Linked DNA regions of Homo sapiens: region 2 is linked to region 1. Evidence: promoter capture Hi-C in 16 types of primary human blood cells and fetal thymus (Javierre and others, 2016). All regions are on one chromosome and are shown on one strand. Each heading gives the region's core, a stretch centred on a gene start or on the middle of the fragment in contact. The rest is flanking DNA. Distances are from core to core; before and after follow the strand shown.

Region 1 (2,820 bases), core at 206-2,705:
AAAGCATGGGAAATAGTAATGAGACAGTGTCTTCTTCATTAGAACCTTAGGAGTCTACTAGATTTCTTCATCTCTATTTGTTGTTATTAGTAGCCAAACTGTGCAAAAAACACGGTCTTGAGAAATGACAGCACAGTATCTTAGAGGGAAAGGAAATGTAGGATGCCAGTGTGGGGACAAATTTCTGATTGCCAGTGATTGTTGTGAGCATAACAATAATTTCATGAACATTAAAGCCTCTATTGAGGGCAGCTGCAGTTGTAAAGGAAAAAAAATGGTCCTGAACATTTAAAACTACACTGGTGTACATCATAATCAAACAAAGTAAACAGAAAAAAATTTAAACTTTGCTAAAAAAAAAAAGCAGAAGCACTTGATCTTTAGGAAGGCACGCAGTTGCTTATTATGAATCATTTCTAGAGTCCGATGCATTTTCAAAGCCGGTTACAGTCATTACGAAGCACACCCTTGTGAGGTAAGTGTATCATCACCTTTGGTTCATAAATAAAAAAGCTGAGACGCCGAGCGATTAAGTCACTCGCCTAAGGAGAATGAGTCAACGTCAAGAGTCATAGTTGACCCGGCCTAAAGACTCCAGACCATCAGTCCAGGGCTTAGTCAGCGGGGCCCGGAGTGGCTTCCCTGGCTGGCATCTGGACTTAGGCTATTTCCGTGCACGTAAAAGCGGAATATTGGAACGGTTGCACAGAACTTCCAAATAATTTTTACCGCCACGCAAGATTTAGCCCTGAGGTCTTAATCTCAGGATTTGGGACAGTAAAAGCTGTCGTCCCTCCCCCTCGTCCAGCCGGTGGCAAGCGGGTACTGCGGGCGGTTCCGTCCGTCCCCTTTCGCAGAAATGGCAACGAATGACCACCAGCATTAGCTGAGCCAGGGGACGTGGGAGGGTTGATTGCCTAAACGACTCTGCATCGCCGCCTCTTTTTGAAACTAAGAGAAAATGGTGGGAGATCAAAAGAAAACTAAATAAACACACAGGCAACTTGTCCTGGGACCTCAACTAAGCAAATGAAGCCTTATTGTGTGTGCTGAGCCTGCAGTTCCCAACCTTCCGGGGAAGATGGGAGGACAGGGCGACAAAGGGCACAGTAGGCTTGCCTGGCAGTAAGTGTGACCGCAGCTATCCAGGCGGAAGAGCAGAGGACTGAAACCACCCTCCAGCAAGCGAGTGTCCGCCGCGTTGAGAACCGCGCACCCTACCCATCGGCCACGTGACCAGTCCTTTTTAAAAAAAATTTCTTTACCTTAAAAAAAAAAAAAAAAAAAAGGTGGGGGAGAGACTCCACTTCCCAGAAGCCTCTCGTTACTCACGCAGCCGCAGTCTTGCGCAGGTGCCGCCAGGGCCAAACGGACATATCCGTCACGTGGCCAGAAGCTGGCCAATCCGGTTTGAATCTCATTTTTTTCCTCTTACCCCCCCTTCTGGAGCGGTTGTGCGATCAGATCGATCTAAGATGGCGACTGTCGAACCGGTGAGTATTGCCTTTGGCCCCCACCCCCACGGGTCCCCGCGCTCCGTCTTCCTTCTGACTGGGGGACTCCGCGGGACGGCGTTCCCGGCGCGCACTGTACCCCTTGCCGCCCCTTCCCCTTCATGTTGGACCTGACCTCCCGCGGACAAGTGGGGACGTCCCGGAGGATGGCCGAGGCGGCGTGTAGCGCACACTTTCTGGTGGGGGCCCGAGAACTGGGGGAGCGGTGTGGGGGAGGGGCGGCGTGGCGCCTCCTGCGGAACCGCGAGGTGTCTACAGGGTGGAGGGTAGCTGGGGTTCTGGGCTGGGTATGCGAGGATGGTGTCTTCATGATAGGAAGGCGCAGGGCCGGCTCCCAGCGAGTACTGGGATCCGCAGGCAGGGTGGGCGGCGAGCCGGCCTGGAGTGAGATGGAGGAGGGAGCCCTGGAGCAGCCTTTCCCTCCCTGCAGAACCCCAGCTCCGGGGCTCGGGTGCGGGGCGCGCGCACGTCTTCCTTAGACCGGTGGACTGGGGAGCTGGTGGGCGAGTGTTGCCGGAGGGTGGGTTAGGCGGGAGTGGTGCCGCGGCACGCGCGGAGGAGCTTCGACCTCGCTTAGGGGAGTTGAGAGGGGCGAGCGTCTGTTAATCCAGCGCGCCGGAGAGTTGCCGGTGTTTGCGCCAGGGGAAGCGAGAAAGGTCTGGGGTGGGAAGGAACACTCGTGTGTCACGGTGAAGCTCTCCAAGTAGAATGAGGGATGGTGGTGGTGAGAAGGGGTATCACATTGTCCTCGCCCCTCCATGCTTGGGACTGGGCTGTCATGGAGGAGGGAAGGGGGAGGAGCGAGGCCTACAGATCGCTGTAGCCGGTCGGCTTGCCGGCCGGACCTGCTGCATTTCACACGCGCCCGTCTTCCATTCATTCATCCTTTCCGCGTAGTGCGCACGCCTCAGAGAATGCGAATGGGTCTCAATCCCTCTGTTCTTCCGAGTCTTTATCTCCTGGAAGATTTCTGAGACGCAGTTTATTGGAAATAGAAACTTTTAAATTTACTTTTCCATTTGACTTTTTTTTTCTCTTTATCTATGCTACAGACTTTCATTTCAATTTAGGCACCATTTTAAACTTAACTGAAGCAAGCTGGTCCCAGGGTAGGTTTGTAGTTAATCTTTAAGCAGAGGGTATATTTTTCATAATTTGGGTTTGCCAGGACTGGCTCACTGAAACTTCTGGGCCCTGTTGCCTTTTTAGAAACGACACAGCTAAGTGAAGATATCTTGTGTGCATAATGGGGTTTATTAGCAATCAGAAAACCTTTCACACTCTGGAACCAGCTCTAGACCTTGGT
Region 2 (2,820 bases), core at 167-2,666, 9.7 Mb before region 1:
AGCCTACGTCGGTATGTCAAACGCTGGACCATTCTGAGTGCCTAAATTAAGAATAGAGTAACATCAAATCTTTCCATTGTAAAAGTAAATAAAATCTCAAAACAGTATCATGTGGTCTATTTCATTCACATACATATCCTTGTATGTAACACCCTTAAATTAAGATGTATTATTCCACATTTTAAAACTACTTGTATTTAAAGGTGACTGATAAACAAGAGGCCAAGAATGTTAGCTTTCCTGATGGTAATCAAACGTGGCACTTCCTTAACGTTCTGATGACCAGGCTCCTTACTCAGAGTCTAATTTTGTTTGGAGTGGTGTCCAGAAAAGTGCCACGAGCCCAGTTGGAGAAACACCGCTTTAAACAAAGAGCACAAAAAGTGAGCTCTGAAGTCGAATCCTTAGCTATGCCATTTACTGGGAATATAAAGGGCAAGGAGCTAGCCTCCTTATCTCTAACATGGGAATTCTGTCTACTTTATACAGCTGTCATTAGGATTAAACGACGTGGGCTATCCGTCCCAACACAATGCCTGGCACATATCAGGGTTCAATGTCTTGCCCTAAAGCACCACCTGCGTAAAGGCATACCCTTTAATACTAATTTTGATATTACACAAGTTTCTTTGGGTTATGGCACCTGCTTTCTTCCCACTTCTGGAAACATCGTGATGTTATTTAGCAAATCGGTTATACAGATATGCATACGAGCAACTTCGTTAAGGGAACTACCCAACGTAAAACATAATCAATACTTGAACTAATTTAATCTTCCCATTCCACCCCTTGTAACCACCTCATTTGTTGTCACAAGCCTCTCACTAAAATTAAACTAAAACAGAATTACCAGACACCAAAACTTGACACGTAAAACCAGTGCGAGTGATTTATGAAGCCATTATTCTGTTTGCATCTCCAAAAGCAAGACAGAAACTTCTAACACATTTTTCTCTTCCTTGACATGGGCCTTGGACGCAGAAGCCAAATAGCGAAACCACCCGAACTCGCCGGACCCTGCCCTCCCAAAGACTAAGGACACGTACAGGCGTGCTGTGAAAACGTGGGTGTAAAATATGAAAACGTTTGGCGATTTTCCAGACTCAAACCGCCAAACCACAACTCGTTAGTCTCCAAACGCTACACTTGGAATGCAGCAAAGTCCCGGGTGGTGAGCTGTGGCTACTCACGGCTTTGGAGGTGCCACCAGGAACAAGGGATTTCCAAAGATCAAAGTAAGGAACTTCCTCACCACCAACCTCCCTGTTGTGCCCCTTACCCCTACACCAGCTCAAAGGACTGCTTCTGAGAGCTCTAGGCTTCCTCAGCTCCTCGGATGGCAGCCGATTGGTAAGGAAATAAAGACAGGGAAAAGAGAACAACATCCATACCTGCAGACAACGTCCCCGGAAGAGGAAGAAAAAAGCCTTTGCCAGTTCAAAGGTCAAATAGAATTGCGCAGGACAGGAAGTTGCGTCAGAGAGAGAGTATCCGTGTTGTACGGAAGCCGACGCACCTCTCCGACGTGGGCAGAGATGCAGGGAACCACCACGTTGTACGGCAACCAACGTGCCGCCCCTCTGTGGGCGGGGATTCACACTAGCTGTCTGTGTCAAGGCCACGCAGAAATCTATTGGAAATCGCTGTGGAAACAAACGCAAATGAAAAGCCGCAAAGAGCAAAGGTGGGACAAAATCAACTTCTTTCGTTGTCATGGACACTGCACTTTTAATCTAAAGGGCGCCAGCTCTGGCGTTAGACCTGGGTTTAAATCCCAACTCTTGACATTTATGGTTAAGGGACCTTCAAGGACCAGGGACCTTCAAGAACCTTCCCTTCTTCAACCTTCCCTTCTCTTTCCTTGTCATTTATTCAGAGCACAAGCTTTACAAACAAATTGGGATTTTAATCCAGTGTCTGCTAATTATTAGCTATGTTACTTTGAGCAAGCCCTTAAATCTCTAAAAGGAAGATATTAGGAACTACCGTGCCATGTTATGTCATGATCAAAGGCATTATGAAGTTAAAGCACTTAGCACAGGGTCTTATAGAGAGGAAGTGCTCAGTAAATGGTTGCTAATCTTATGATTATGTACAAAGAACTACTTGAGGCTTTTCATGGGTGGTAAAGTTTAACCTTTAAAACAGTATGTAAAATTTTACATTAAGCGCACGTGTGTATTTTTCTGAGAAGAGGGTCCCTGGCTTTCATCACCTTGTCAAAGGGATTCATGACCTCTAAAAAAGTAAAGAACTCTTTGCCTGGGCTGTAAAAGACAATTCTAAAAGGGGCCTTTAAGTTTTTAATCTTAGATCAGGCTCCCTGGAAACACACCTCGAAGAGACTTGAGTGTTGGCTTATGGGGAGCGCTCTTAGAATGCACCTCCAGGAAGCTGAGAAAGGCGGGGTCAGGTGATCCACAACGTGGTTGCTGTGAGGCAGCTGCATTGCCCCAGAAGAGAGGATTTGGATAGGATATCCCAGTACCCACTCAACTTTCCTTCTAGTATTTCTAATCCATCTAGCAAACCAAGAAAGCAGGCAAGTGACTGAGGGCATGTAGTCTGTCTTGAACTGTGAGGCCTATTGATTCTATCAAGCCTCACATCACTGCCATCTTTGTCACAACACCAGATGGAAGGCTCTGGTTATATCCTTCCCTCTGCTCACTCTCAAATAGCTGCTTCTCCCCCGACCTTGTCATCAGCTACTTCCCTCCTTTCCAGTCCTTTGATTTTTGTCCTCTGAAATCCTTTTCGTCTCTGTGCCAGGCATTGAGATGGAAGCTTGCATAGAGAGACAAATGTGGTTTTTGAATA

Evidence for each region. The method cuts DNA at HindIII sites, captures the fragments that hold promoters and counts their contacts. A CHiCAGO score of 5 or more calls a contact.
Region 2: the fragment with the promoter of RPL34 here is called in contact with the fragment with the promoter of EIF4E in region 1 in 1 of 17 cell types (neutrophils); the score reaches 13.8 in neutrophils.

What each region holds. Positions count from the first base shown.
Region 1 is chr4:98,927,768-98,930,587 of GRCh38, reverse strand. It overlaps EIF4E (eukaryotic translation initiation factor 4E), which reads left to right and starts at 1,455. Exons shown (of 7, transcript NM_001968.5): 1 at 1,455-1,493. The coding sequence starts at 1,476. RefSeq lists an enhancer at 1-1,061. The HindIII fragment of the contact is 5,241 bases long and covers 1-2,820 here.
Region 2 is chr4:108,619,172-108,621,991 of GRCh38, reverse strand. RPL34 (ribosomal protein L34) reads right to left here and starts at 1,416. Exons shown (of 5, transcript NM_001319236.2): 1 at 1,392-1,416; 2 at 1-41. The coding sequence starts at 32. RPL34-DT (RPL34 divergent transcript) reads left to right here and starts at 1,535. Exons shown (of 4, transcript NR_026968.1): 1 at 1,535-1,684. RefSeq lists enhancers at 1,404-1,453, 679-1,878. The HindIII fragment of the contact is 3,742 bases long and covers 1-1,886 here.